Regions from separate parts of the Homo sapiens genome. Here all the other regions are linked to region 3. Evidence: promoter capture Hi-C in 16 types of primary human blood cells and fetal thymus (Javierre and others, 2016). All regions are on one chromosome and are shown on one strand. The core of a region is centred on a gene start or on the middle of the fragment in contact, and the rest is flanking DNA. Distances in the headings are between cores, read along the strand shown. Region 1 has its middle 35 kb from the start of LINC02313. Region 2 overlaps LOC105370440 (a long non-coding RNA gene). Region 3 holds the start of NUBPL (NUBP iron-sulfur cluster assembly factor, mitochondrial). Region 4 has its middle 51 kb from the start of LINC02313. Region 5 has its middle 19 kb from the start of LINC02313.

Evidence for each region. The method cuts DNA at HindIII sites, captures the fragments that hold promoters and counts their contacts. A CHiCAGO score of 5 or more calls a contact.
Region 1: a contact is called between a fragment that was not itself captured here and the fragment with the promoter of NUBPL in region 3, in 2 of 17 cell types (M1 macrophages and M2 macrophages). The highest score is 5.7, in M1 macrophages.
Region 2: a contact is called between a fragment that was not itself captured here and the fragment with the promoter of NUBPL in region 3, in 2 of 17 cell types (total B cells and total CD8 T cells). The highest score is 5.6, in total B cells.
Region 4: a fragment that was not itself captured here is called in contact with the fragment with the promoter of NUBPL in region 3 in 4 of 17 cell types (M2 macrophages, M1 macrophages, endothelial precursors and 1 more); the score reaches 6.2 in M2 macrophages.
Region 5: a fragment that was not itself captured here is called in contact with the fragment with the promoter of NUBPL in region 3 in 2 of 17 cell types (endothelial precursors and M2 macrophages); the score reaches 6.1 in endothelial precursors.

Annotation. Positions count from the first base shown.
Region 1 is chr14:31,908,450-31,911,149 of GRCh38, forward strand. No RefSeq gene overlaps it. Among named protein-coding and RNA genes, the nearest start is that of LINC02313, 35 kb to the right of the region's middle. The HindIII fragment of the contact is 243 bases long and covers 1,319-1,561 here.
Region 2 is chr14:32,055,498-32,058,197 of GRCh38, forward strand. LOC105370440 (a long non-coding RNA gene) reads left to right here. Exons shown (of 4, transcript XR_943727.2): 4 at 1,426-1,883. Among named protein-coding and RNA genes, the nearest start is that of ARHGAP5-AS1, 20 kb to the right of the region's middle. The HindIII fragment of the contact is 348 bases long and covers 1,141-1,488 here.
Region 3 is chr14:31,559,954-31,562,653 of GRCh38, forward strand. It overlaps NUBPL (NUBP iron-sulfur cluster assembly factor, mitochondrial), which reads left to right and starts at 1,451. Exons shown (of 11, transcript NM_025152.3): 1 at 1,451-1,594; 2 at 2,115-2,262. The coding sequence starts at 1,487. It overlaps NUBPL-DT (NUBPL divergent transcript), which reads right to left and starts at 1,378. Exons shown (of 3, transcript XR_943720.2): 1 at 1,158-1,378. RefSeq lists enhancers at 1,294-1,693, 1,620-2,175. The HindIII fragment of the contact is 6,263 bases long and covers 664-2,700 here.
Region 4 is chr14:31,892,458-31,895,157 of GRCh38, forward strand. No RefSeq gene overlaps it. Among named protein-coding and RNA genes, the nearest start is that of LINC02313, 51 kb to the right of the region's middle. The HindIII fragment of the contact is 1,367 bases long and covers 603-1,969 here.
Region 5 is chr14:31,924,550-31,927,249 of GRCh38, forward strand. No RefSeq gene overlaps it. Among named protein-coding and RNA genes, the nearest start is that of LINC02313, 19 kb to the right of the region's middle. The HindIII fragment of the contact is 1,164 bases long and covers 785-1,948 here.

The DNA.
Region 1 (2,700 bases), core at 190-2,689, 350 kb after region 3:
CTGGCCCTAGGTTTTTTATAGTTTGAAGTCTTTAAGTCTTTAATGTATCTTGAGTTAATTTTTGTATATGGTGAAAGGTAGGGATCCAATTTCATTCCTCTGTATATGGATAGCCAGTTATCCTAGCACCATTTATTGAATAGGGAGTCCTTTCCCCATTGCATATTTTCATTGACTTTGTCAAAGATCAGTTGGTTGTAGGTGTGTAGCTTCATTGCTGGATTCTCTATATTTTGTTCCATTGGTCTATGTGTCTGTTTTTGTGCCAATACCATGATGTGGCCGTTTTGGTTACTGTAACCTTATAGTATAGCTTGAAGTCAGGTAATGTGAGGCTTCCAGCTTTGTTCTTTTTGCTTAGGATTGTTTGGGCTGTTTTTGGCTCTTTTTTGGTTCTGTATGAATTTTAGAATAGTTTTTTTTAATTCTGTGAAAAATGACATTGGTGTTTTGATAGGAATAGCATTAAATCTGTAGATTGCTTTGGGCAGAATGGTATTGTGGCCTAAGCTTTTTGTGTAATACCCAAAAAGCCATTGCCCCATTTTGTCCTTTGGCACCATTAGTTGACCATATATGTTTTGATTTATTTCTGGGTTCTCCATTCTGTTCCACTGGTTTGTGTGTCTGTTTTTATGCCAGAGCCACACTGTTTCAGCTTTGTAGTATAATTTTAAATCAGGAAGTGTAATGTCTTTAACTTTGTTTTCCTTTCTCAGAATTGTTTTGGCTATTTAGTCTTTTATGTTTTCATGCAAATTTTAGGACTTTTTTCTATTTCTGTGAAGAATGTCACTGGGATTTTGATAGGGATTGTATTGAATCTGTATATTGCCTGGGTAGTATGGACATTTTAACAATATTAATTATTTTAATCCATAAGCACAGGATATCTTCCCATTTATTTATTTGTCTTCTTCAACAATTTCCTTCATCCATGTTTTATAATTTCCAGTGTACATATCTTTCACTTCCTTGGTTAAATTTGCCCTAGGTATTTTATTTTGTTTGTTGCTTTGGTAAATGGAATTTCTTTATTTATTTTTCAGTTAAGAATTAAAAAATTCTTATATATGTTATTCATGTATAAAAATGCTACTGATTTTTGTATGTTGATTTTGTGTCCTGTAAGTTTACTGAATTCGTAGTCATTTTTACTTTTTCCTTTCTGATTTGGATGCCCAGTCTTTTTTCTTTCTTTTCTTGGTCTGATATGCTTTATCAGATATAAAAATAATTATCCCTGCTCTCTTTTGGTTACCATTTGCATAGAATATCTTCTTGTATCCCTTCTCTTTCAGCCTGTGTGTGTCATTAAAGCTTAAGTGAGTCTCTTATTTTTTAGGCAGTATATAGTTGGATCTTATTTTTTTAATCCATTCAGACACTCATGTATTTTGATTGGATAATTTAATCAATTTACCTTCAAGGTTATTATTGATGGGTAAGAACTTACTACTGACATTTTCTTATTTGTTTTCTGGTTGTTTTATAGCTGCTCAGTTCCTTTCTTCCTCTCTTGTTGTCTACCTTTGTGAATTGATAATTTTCTGTAGTACTAAGCTTTGATATCTTTCTTTTTATTGTTTATCTCCTGTAGTTTTTTTGTTGTTTGTTTTTTGGTTACTATGAGGCTTACAGAAAACATCTTATAATCTACCACTTTAAACTGATAATTTCTGTCACATACGAAAAACTCTAAACTTTTAGTCTCCATCATCATTTATGTTTTTGATGTGTCAACAAAAAGAATCAGACTCTGTAAAGTATTTGAAGAGATTTATTCTAAGCCGAATATGCGTGACCAGTGGCTCATGACACAGCCCTCAGGAGATCCTGAAAACATGTGCCCAAGGTGGCTGGGCTCCACCTTGGTTTATGCATTTTAGGGAGACATAAGACATCAATCAATATGTATAAGATGTACATTGGTTTGATCTGGAAAGGCAGGACAACTCTAAGCAGGGGGCTTCCAGGTCATAGGTGGATTCAAAGATTTTCTGATTGGCAATTGGTTGAAAAAGTTATTATCTAAAGACCTGGAATCAATAGAAAGGAATGTCTAGATTAAGAGAAGGGGTTGTGGAGACCAAGGTTTTATCATGCAAGTGAAACCTCCTGGTAGCAGGCTTCAGAGCTCTTATCAGACCTAAAAAAGGTGCCAGACTCAGTTAATTCTCTCCTGGATCAGGGAAAAGACATGGAAAGAAATGAGGATTGTCTACATAAAGTATATTTTCCTCACAAGAGACAGGCTTGCAAGACCATTTCAAAATATATCAAAGAAATATAATTTGGGGCAAAATACTTTGATTTCTTTTAGGGTCTGCTATCTGTCATGTGATGCTATACTAGAGTCAGGCTGGAATTTGATGTCTTATTGCTATGAATAGTCTGCTTTGTCAGTCTTAACATCTGTTTTAATGTTAATGCTAGTCAGCTGTGCCTGAATTCCAAAAGGGAGAAGGGAATAATAAGGCATGGCCCACTCTGCTTCCTATCATGGCCTGAACTAGTTTTTCAGGTTAACTTTGGAATGCCTTTGGCCAAGAGGAGGGTCCATCAGTTGGTTGGGGGCTTTCAATTTTATTTTTAGTTTACAAATGTCACAACTTACATCTTTTATATTGTGTATCCCTTAATGACTATCCTGGTCATTTTTTATGTTTCAACTTTTAACCTCCATACTAGAGGTATGTA
Region 2 (2,700 bases), core at 65-2,564, 500 kb after region 3:
GAACAAGAAGCTGCTACCAAGATAGTTTTCAACCTTTTCCAATAGACTTCTAGTACGCCTGCTCTAATGTATGCTATGGACCCTAACTTTCTTTATTTTAGGCTTTTTGTTACTGTTGTACTGTTTTGTTTTGTTATTATTATTATTTTTTTTAATAGAGACAGTGTCTCACAATGTTGTCCAGGCTGGTGTTGAACTCTTGGCCTCAAGCAATCCTCCCACCTTGGCCTCCCAAAGTGCTGGGGCCAGTTTGGTTTTTTTTTTTTTTTTTAACAGATTTTAAAGCAGAGCTCTGGTCTATACCCTGATGTGTCACTGAGTCTAAACTAGACTCTATTCATTCATTTCCATTTATCAGTTGGCTATTGATTTTTTTTTTTTTTTTTGAGACGGAGTCTTGCTCTGTCACCCAGGCTGGAGTGCAGTGGCACGATCTCAACTCACTGCAAACTCTGCCTCCCAAGTTGAAGCAATTCTCCTGCTTTAGCCTCCTGAGTAGCTGGGACTATAGGTGACAGGCGCCTGCCATCACACCCAGCTAATTTTTGTATTTTTATTAGAGACGGGGTTTCACCATGTTGGCCAGGCTGGTCTTGAATTCCTGACCTCAGGTGATCCAACTGCCTTGGCCTCCCAAAGTGCTGGGATTACAGGCGTGAGCCACCGCGCCCAGCCTGATTTTTTTTTGAGACAGGGTCTCACTCTGTCACCCAAGCTGGAGTGCAGTGGCACAATCACACCTCACTGTAGCCTCTACCTCCCAGGCTCAAGTACCTCTCTGTCTCAGTCTCCAGAGTAGCTGGGACTACAGACACAAGCCACCATATCCACTAATGTTGTTCTTTTCTCTTGATTAATAATTGATGCATACTGGTTTGGTATGTTTTGTTTTTTCTTCCTTTCTTTCTTTCTTTCTTTCTTTCTTTCTTTCTTTCTTTCTTTCTTTCTTTCTTTTCTTTCTTTCTTTCTTTCTTTTCTTTCTTTCTTTCTTTCTTTCTTTCTTTCTTTCTTTCTTTCTTTCTTTCTTTCTTTCTTTTTTTTGAGATAGGGTCTTGCTATGTTGCTGAGGCTGGAATGCAGTGGTGTAATCATGACTCCCAGACTTGGTTGGTTTTGTTTTATGTTTTTTAATTTTAAACAAGCTTTAATCATAAAAATTTAAACAGCATAAAAGCCTAAGTTACAAATTCTTCTTTGCCATCTCCTTACCCCTTTTCCTTGCACTCTATCCACTTTCCTCTGCAAGTGTGCATCTATCCAAACCTTTTCCCATATATTAAATTTATAGATATATGTACATATACATATACTTACTCATATAAATGGTTAAAGGACATACCAATTTTTTGAGTGCCACTTTGAACTGTCTATTGCAACACTTAATAATAATAGCCCTTTGTTTTGTTATTCTTCCCTGTTTAATAGGAGGTTGGAACTCTACCCTGGTTTGACTGATCCCTCAAATACATTCAGATGTCATCATAAAGAAGCTTTAGCTTCATAAAGAAGGAAGACAAAGGAAAAATTGTGCCACTTCTGTTAATTTAATCAGAAAGTTTTAATGATGTCTTATTACTTGGGTTTTTATCATAATGATTTGTTTTAATGCTGAGTTCAGTTTCAGTTTTATATTTGTTCTATCTTGTGCAACGTCCAAGGATAATTTAACTATTCAAATGAAGTAGTCCCTTAAAAAATTATCCCATGGCATGGATTTGAAGAGGCAGGCAAAAATGGAATAAAGTACTTTTCAGTAGATTAGACAATTGCAATCCAGTTCTATTGAAGCCCCACGACAGGATTGCTGCTAAATTTGATGTATATTTTCTGTTTTTTTGTTTGTTTGGTTGGCTGGTTGGTTTTTGTTTTTGAGACAGAGTCTTGCTTTGTTGCCCAGGCTGGAGTACGATGGCACAATCTCAGCTCACTGCAACCTCCACCTCCCAGGTTCAAGTGATCCTCCTGCCTCAGCCTCCTGAGTAACTGGTATTACCAGCTCATGTCATCATGCCAGGCTAGTCTTTTGTATTTTATTAGAGACGAGCTGGTCTCGAACTCCCAAGATTAGGCAATCCACCTGCCTTGGCCTCCCGAAGTGCTGGGATTACAGGTGTGAGCCACCTTGCCCATCTTGGGGTTTAAAAAAAAATGCTTCCATGATTTCACTTCTAATGGATAAAGAGAGACATCTAAGAAGTCTGACGTTTAAAGTGTTGAAAAAATGAGACATTCAGGCTACAACTGTAGTGGTCATGTTTTGAATTGTGTTTTTAAATGGGCATGGAGTTTTCTAAGAATGGGGATATATTGCAACCTCTCACATGGAAAGTTATAAATAATGTTCAAAGGGGATTGAGGAACCAGGGCCATAGAGTTTTGGAAAAATATTGGAAGATGACTTAACTGTCGGCCATTTGACCATGCTTCCTGGACTTCCTCCTGTATTATCCCTGCACCCTCTCCTACCTAACCTGTCTGCTATAGTCACAAATGCAAGTTAATCTTCTTTATCACTTTTATTGTTAGGCCTGTTCTACAGCTTCAAAAATCAGAAAATTTTAAAGTGGAAAACGGGTCTTTGGAGACTACCGACTCCTTTCCCTGGCCTGAAGCAATAAAACTATGAGCTGAAGTTCAGTGCAGTCACAGTTCAGCTTTCCAAATGCTTCCTACTAAGTTTATTTCTTTTAACTTTTTTTT
Region 3 (2,700 bases), core at 201-2,700:
ATCTCTCTTTCCTTTCCCCACATTTCCCCCTTTTCTATTCGACAAAACCGCCATCGTCATCATGGCCCGTTCTCAATGAGCTGTTGGGTACACCTCCTAGACAGGGTGGCGGCTGGGCAGAGGGGCCCCTCACTTCCCAGACGGGGTGGCCGGGCAGAGGTGACTCCACCTCCCGGACGGGGTGGCGGCCGGGCGGGGTCTGCCCCCCACCTCCCTCCGGGACGGGGCGGCTGACCGGATGGGGGCTGCCCCCCACGTCCCTCCCGGACGGGGCAGCTGGCCGGGCGGGGGCTTTTCTCTCTTCTTTCATCTTTCTTCCTTCTACTCTCTTCTTCTTTCTTCTTCCTTCTTCTTTCTTCTCCTTTTAATTTCCTCTTCCTCCTTCCTCCTTCCTTCTTTCTTCTTCTTCTGACAAGGTGTCACTCTGCTGCCCACGCTGGAGTGCAGTGGTGCAATCATAGCTCACTGCATCCTTGAACTCCTGGCTCAAGCAATCCTCTTGCTTTGGCCTCCCAAAGTGTTGGAATTACACGCGTGAGCCACCATGCCTAGCCTTAGCAGTCCATTTCTAACCTCTTTACAACAATCTCCTTGCCATTCTCCCAGCTAACTTCTACACATTATTCAGATTCAGCATTCAGCTTAGATATTACCTAATTTAGAAGCTTCCCCTGATTGAATTGAGTGCCCTTTCTTTGTATCACTTTGTCCTTTCTCCTGTATCCCTCAATGCTTTTCTCCTGTACTTATCATATTATACCGCAATTTTGTTGTTAACTTATTCTGTCTTTTGCACTGGATTATAAAGCCCTTTAGTGGAGGAATTATGTCGGTCTCAATGCTGAATATTTTAAGTCTACTGTAGTACTCGGTACATAGTAGTTGCTCAACGAATATTTGTTAAATAAATGAGTCTTAAGTCTGGAAGAACTTGCAAAGTTCTTTACCAGGTTGCTGGTAAAGCAACCTGACCTTTCTTTCAGGGAACTGTCAGCAACACAAGCCATGAATACCAACGCAAAACAGACTCTCACTGTAGATCACACGGGAAAAAATAAAATAAAAAGGTAAAATCCTTAACGGTGGTAGTATTTAAATGACCATATACTGCTTAGTAAGAAATCCTGGGGTCATTTTCAAGGTCCCCCATTTCCTACTTTTGTTAAGCTGGGTCAAGTCTCTTTAAACTTTCTCCGTTTTCTTGTCCATAAAAAGAGTATACTAGGTAAGTCTTCTGTCTACCTCGGGACTTCTGTAAGTATCATAAGAGATGTTTTATATGACAACACTTCACAAACGTTTAGTAAAACGCTGCAAAATGTTTGTAGCTGGCTATAAACAAGATCATGCAGATTGGGTTCCTGAGCCAACAAACCCAAAGAAGACCGGTTGCTAGGAAGAGAAAGCCGAGCGTTGCTCCGTGACGTCATCACTCCGCGCCACCCGCGACAGTTTCCCAGCAGGGCTCACAGCAGCGTTCCGCGTCATGGGGATTTGGCAGCGTCTGCTGCTTTTTGGTGGGGTGTCGCTCCGGGCTGGTGGCGGGGCCACTGCCCCGCTTGGGGGAAGCCGAGCGATGGTTTGTGGGCGCCAGGTCCGTGGTGCTGCAGGGCAGGGGGAAGCGGGCTGACAGATGCTGGGCTGCAGGGCCGCAGATGCCCTGGCATTGCTTCTTGCCAAAGACTCGCCTCAGTTCCTGAGACCCCCAGTGTGCTGGACGTGCCTACTTTTCAGGCAGGCCCAGGCTGAGGCGTGGCGGGACTTGAAACACAGTTAGAACGTAGATGTGGTATTCTACATTGCTTTCTTGGCTTTGGGTTATTTATCAAATAGATTGAAGAAAAGCAAAACACGTGGAAGCCTTATCTCCGTAAAGAGGCAGCGTTTTTACATTTTTAAACGTTCAGCGTATCCTGCTAGAAAAATTTCAATTTAAGCAATGTGTCTTTACAATTGTTATCAGTAGTAGTAGGTAAATGTCTCCATAGTGAAGATGAGCAGAATTAGAAAAGAAAGCCCTCTTAATTGCAAACCCCAGATTGTTTTTGCTTTTACAGTGTGATGATGGAGATGGCTTATTTAAAACGGCTTTTTATTATTATTATTTTTTAAAGTTGTCTGGCGCCGGGAGTGAGACCCTAAAACAAAGAAGAACACAAATCATGTCCCGAGGACTTCCAAAGCAGAAACCGATAGAAGGTGTTAAACAAGTTATAGTTGTGGCTTCTGGAAAGGGTGGAGTCGGAAAATCTACTACAGCAGGTATTATAGGATATTAATTCTATTCCTGATTAAGAACTTATGCCAACAGACAAGTGCACACTATTGAAATTATAGTTTTGTGTTTTAAAAATTTATTTGTGAAGTTCCTAACATGTGATTCCTTAGTTTCAGGAGTTGGTAGCGGGTAGACGCTTAGATTTTGGAGTTAGACAAAAGTAGGTACTAGCCGGGTCTCCCACCCCTTAACTCAGGAAAAAGTGGTCAGATTGTACAGCAAATCTTCAGTTCACTTAACTGTAAAATGGAGATAACTTCTTTCATAAGATGGTTATTCAAATTGCACAAGCTAACCACTTAGCTTAGTGTTTACTAGTGTTCAATAATTGGTTGCTGTTATTTTTAAAACATCTAGTAACTTTTTTTTTTTGTTTTTTTTTTTTTTTTTGAGACGGAATCTCGCTCTGTCACCCAGGCTGT
Region 4 (2,700 bases), core at 36-2,535, 330 kb after region 3:
GTTTTCCAGTGAATACCTGTTGTGGTTTTTCTGTTCTCAGGTTCATAAGTCACAGTCCCCATTGCTTTCCTCTTTTTCCTCCTGCACTGATAGGCCCCATGCAGGTTTAGGGATTTCTGGTAGTTTGTTTCTACTCACTTATATTTGGGGGCTCAGAGGGATACCCCTTCATCTCATTTTGTTATAAGTGTTGTCCATGGGTTTTGGGTTTTGCTATCTTGTTTTCCTATTTTTATGTGGGGACTTGGAGAGATTGAAAGACTATGCTTGCCACTACTGCTGTCTTCCCAGAATCTTCCCCTCATAGGGAGCTCTTGATAAATCTGCCCCCCACCACCCTGCTCCACCAGTTTCCTTCTCACTTAGAACAGGAAGAACTATTTTGGATTCCATGGCGGAGACCTTGAAAAGTGTTTCTGATGGGGAACTCTCTGCTCCTTTTTTTCCCTCCCTTTATTCTGCCAGGTAGATTTGAGGACGGAGGGGTTAGCGGTGTGACAGGATGGTGTGTCCATTTCCTGTCTTGTTCTACATAGGACTAAACCAAAAGAGGAGTGAGAGTGGAATGGTTCAGAGATAAAAGCTGTCTCTGCCTCACCTAAAGCTTGAGTTACTTATTGTTAAGTGAGAAGAAATATTTAAGATACAGGTTTTTTTGAGGCTTACATTACACTTCCAGGAGGAGGCAGGTGCCACAAGGGGAAACCAGCACTGTGACCTGAGAAACATTTTTAATGCTATGTTCACATGGGGAAAATTGGAGAGGTCTGGGATTTAACCCTGTCATAAAGATTAGTCATGTGCATATAAAAACACAGCAGCCCTCACAAGGTGGGGTTTCCTCCTCACTCTTGCCTCTGGAGGAAGCCTGCCATATGACTGAAGTCAGCACTCCTTCCTTCCTGGCTAGCAGGCCCTGTGTCCTCCCCAGGTCAGGGACAGACTGTCAAATCACCAGACTCTGCGATTTTTCTGTGCAGGTGCCAGGCATCCTCAGAAATCTGAGTGCTGTCCTGCTTGCAGCTCTCACTGGCAGCCAGGGCTGCATTTGAGTTGGGAGCAGGCGAGAAGGCCCCCTTTGATTGGCATTTCCTTTATTAGCTGGGAGCCTACAAACAATCAACCCTTCCAGCATGCCAGCATTCAGTGTTTGGCCCGTGAGTGTGTCTTGGTGACCTTTATTTGCATTGGCCTGCAGATAATAGTTTCCTCAGTGAGGAGGAGGCGGGAGGAGGTAAACAGCATACATGAAGCCTAAGTATTAACTGTGAGGACTTAAGTATAGGATGTGCGGCTAGGTCTGGCAACCTCAGTTCCGCTGCCCTTTGTGAAGGGGACAGGGACTATATCATTAGCCACCCTGGCCAAGCACCACTGCAGGGGCACTTACAGGTTCAAAGATTTTAGACAGTAAATAGCCAGTGACCTTCAGAGGTCCCTAAACCAGGAGGCCACACCTGATAACTATGGAAGGAACCAAAGTCAGCAATCTAGGAGAGGTTGCCAACCGGTGGCCTGCAGACGAGTTTCATTCAACTTCAGAAAGTTTGAAAAAAAATGTAATTAGTTGTCAACATATCTCCTGCTAAATATCAGGAGACTTCGTGCTTAAAAACAAACAAACAAAACAAAAAAACACCAATTTCTGACTTCTCTTGAGAAACGAGAGGACTGTAAACCATTGGCTGGAGCTGAGTGGCAGCTGCCCCCTAATTCAGGGAACTCTGTTCTTCTCCTTGCCATAGTCCTCCCTCTCCTCTACCATTAGTTTTACTCTTTTTCCTGGATTATTCCCATCAGCATACAAACCTACTGTTAGTTCTCCTTTCTTAAAAAAGTCGACCTTTCCTTGACTTTACTTCCCCTAACAGCTGCTCCCCACTTTCTTTCTCTTCTTTGCAGCAAAAACTATTTAAAAGAGTTGTTCACACTCAGTGTCTGTTTCTCTCTCCCATTCTCTTTGCAGTCAAGCTTTGACGCCCATGGCTCCACCCAGTGCCGTGTGATGTATGTCACAGTGTGATAATCTTTGTGATCAGCCTTGTGGCTTTAAAAAGCCTGTGAGTCCCAAATGCATCTCCAGCTCAGGCCTTCCTCTGGAACTGCAGTCATAGATCCAGCTGCCTACCTGATGCCTCTTCTTGGTGACTAATTGAACTCATATATCTGGCACATCCAGACTGAACTCTTGGCCCTCCCACTTTTACCAGCCAGCTTCCATGTACCTCTCAGTATCCACTCTCCACCTTCCCCAACCTCCCTCACTTTCGGCCCTGGGAGAATGACTTGTATGTGCCCTTCTACTCTCTGGCTTCTGGTTGTCAGATCTGAAGAGAGAGGAGAGCAAGGTCAGAGTGTTTGATTCCTCAGCGTAGTCCAGGGCTGACTGCATCCCTCTATCAAAGGCAAGTCAACACAGCCATCTCCTCAGGATCCTTTCCTTTCTGAGCAGTTAGGCCTAGGGCTGGTCACTGCCTGCTGTTTACCAGCCTTGGGGTATCGTGCTCTCACTTGTGGTTTCGCTACCCCCTGCCCAAACCTTTGTAAATAGCCTCTTCATGAAACCCTCCATGAATTAACCTAATTTGAGTGTGCCATCTGTTTCCTGCTAGGACCTTGATTGTACCCCATATTGTCACCCTTTTTATTTGAAGAGGATATTTTGGAGAGTGACCACCCCTTGCATGAGGACGGTTAGCA
Region 5 (2,700 bases), core at 117-2,616, 360 kb after region 3:
TACAGATAATTCTAAGTCACCAAACATTAGTTAAGGGCCTACTGAGTGCTCCACACTATACCAGGTACTAAAACATGATAGAATATGATGTCTACCTTGGCCTCAAGAAGCCTGTGGTCTGATAGGAGAGCACATTTAGACTTAGAAGTACCAGGAGTACAGAGTAGGGAGTGTTTAGCTGTTAGAAGGAAAATAAAAACAGGGAAGACACCGCTTTTTAGAAGAGGTGACACCTGAGCTGGGCTTTGACAGATAAATTCTTAGCAGAGGAAACAACCTAGGCAAAGGTATGGAGTATGAAAAACAGCATGGTCGGTTCAGAGAAGGCATGGTTGAGGCAGATGGGTCTGGAGAGGAGCAGAGATTGTCATGGAGAGCCTGGTGCTAGGAGTTTGGACTTTATCCATTATGGAATGGGGAGGTCATTGTAAGGTCTTAAACCAGGCAGGGACATGGTCAGTTGGACATGAACCATCAGCCTTATGTGCAGGAGATTAACTAAATATTCCTATTCCAAACATTTGTGTTGGACCTTAGCATACACTAAATAGCTTTCCAATGTGCTTTAATTTAAATAACAGTGAAATTAATTATATGTCAGTCAACAGACAGAAACCACATCAATTATTTTAACAGAGAGAATTTAATATAAAGAATTGTTAACTAGGTGTGGAGGAACTGAAAAGACAAAGAGTACATTACAGTATTCATGGTGGTAGTAACTGAAGGACAGCCCTAGAACTAGAGGGACATGGGAAGAGGTCAGAATTATTAAAACTTAAAAAGCTTTGGGGGATGGGGAGGATGGTGGTGGGGGTTGTACACTATGAAGTTTGTGAATATTAGAGAAACTGCAAACTAGAATCAACTGTTGCTACCAAATGAACTGCCTCTGCCAGGGTAAAGAAGTAGACTGCAGAGGCAGTGACAAGTAGGAAGCAACCAGAAAGCAAACAGAAAAAGGCAGGTTCCTTCTTCCTTTTCCAGCCTTACTGTCTCTGTCTAGCACTCCTTGACAGAGCCTACTCTGGAGCCAGCAGGCAAGAGAGTCCCAGCCCAGAGCCACAAGTCAGAGCATAGAAGTTTAGAGCTGAGAGATTATAGTTTCGTAACTAGCACGATTGCCATTCCCAGAGTGGATATCAGTGGATTACAAAAAACAGGACAGGCATCCTAGGAACTAAAGATTTCCTAAAACATTAACAGGTGTTCAATCACATTTTAGACTTATATTCATCATTATCTATGGATGCTACAACTGTCTTTGTGACCTCTGATTCTCATTTTCTTTAATGCGTGAAGACTTACTGCATAGGACTTATTCACATCTCACCACGCAAGACTGTTGGCTTGTAGACGATGGAATTTTAGGTGTAAGAAATGAATGGGCCTAGCACGTCAAAAAGTGAGCAGTGTCATCTTGGGCCTACAACATTGCACCTCTCTTCTCAGTCATCTTGGATTATCTGAGGCATATATGTCATTGATAGAAAAATCTTTACCTCCTTTAGTTCTTCTACTCCATTAATGTCCCTGCAAGTACTCTGCTTAAAGCCTAGCTTTTTGTAGGCCTTTGTACTTGTTTGTAGAATTAAACCCAGGTGTCTTGGAGTCATGTGGATTAAACATTTGGTTATGTGCTGCTTGTGTTTTTCTCCAGATGATTTCTATACCTAAGTCTTGTCATACCCACTAGGTGGCAGTCTTCTTGACCGCAGGTCTGTGTGGTGGGAAAGCACAGATTTAGAATCAACAGCACAAAGTTCAAATCCCAGTTCTGACACTTACTAAATTAGTGTTACTTAACTAAAGTTAGCAAGTGACATAATCTAAGTCTTAGTCCCTCATCTGCAAAATGGTGGACAGTATCTGTTTTCATTAGGTTGTGCTGGTGAAGTGAAATGATATCATAACATAGAACCTGGTACTTAATAGGTGTTAAATGACAAGCTTACCTTTTCCTTTCTTTATTTTCTATCTCTGTAACATATCTTTTCATACCAGGAATGTGTAATATTGGCAACCTGACTTACCAAATAGAGTAGCTGTGGAATCCTTTTAGGAGAGAAACTGAAATATCTTTATACAATGTCCCTTCTCCCCAGGCACCTAGAACATTGGGTACACCAATAACACTTTAAAATATATATATAATGATTGGAACTATTTCTAAAGAGGAAGGTCATCTTCAGTGTATGTAGACATGAGCTGCCGGATATTCTGTCAGAACAATAGCTATTCATTGTGTTAGTTTCAAAGCTGGCTCCGACAAGCTAGTATTTCAGTGTTATTCCCACACAAACAAATCTTGAGCAAAATTTCCATGACCCAATAGATTGGTGTAAACAACTCGCTGCAAGAACTTTTTACATGTAAACCCATGTCATTCATTCAAATGTTCAGTGCTTTCAGGGAGTTTTGTAAGTGCAGCCTAAGAATTAATGATTTTTAAAAAAGCAAAAACAAAAAACAAATGCTCATCAACCCCTACCCTCAGGATTGTGTTTTGTTGCAGAGTATATGCGGTAAATAGCTCAGTTCCTCCCACCATAGCTGTAGATGGGAGACACAGCCATCAGATAACATAGTCTGATGGGAAAGTCCTTTAAAGGCACTGAAACATTAACAGGCTGGCCGAGGCGTGCAGGCTGCCAGAGGTCCTGACTCCTGGGCCAAAGAATAATGACAGGCTTTCTATTT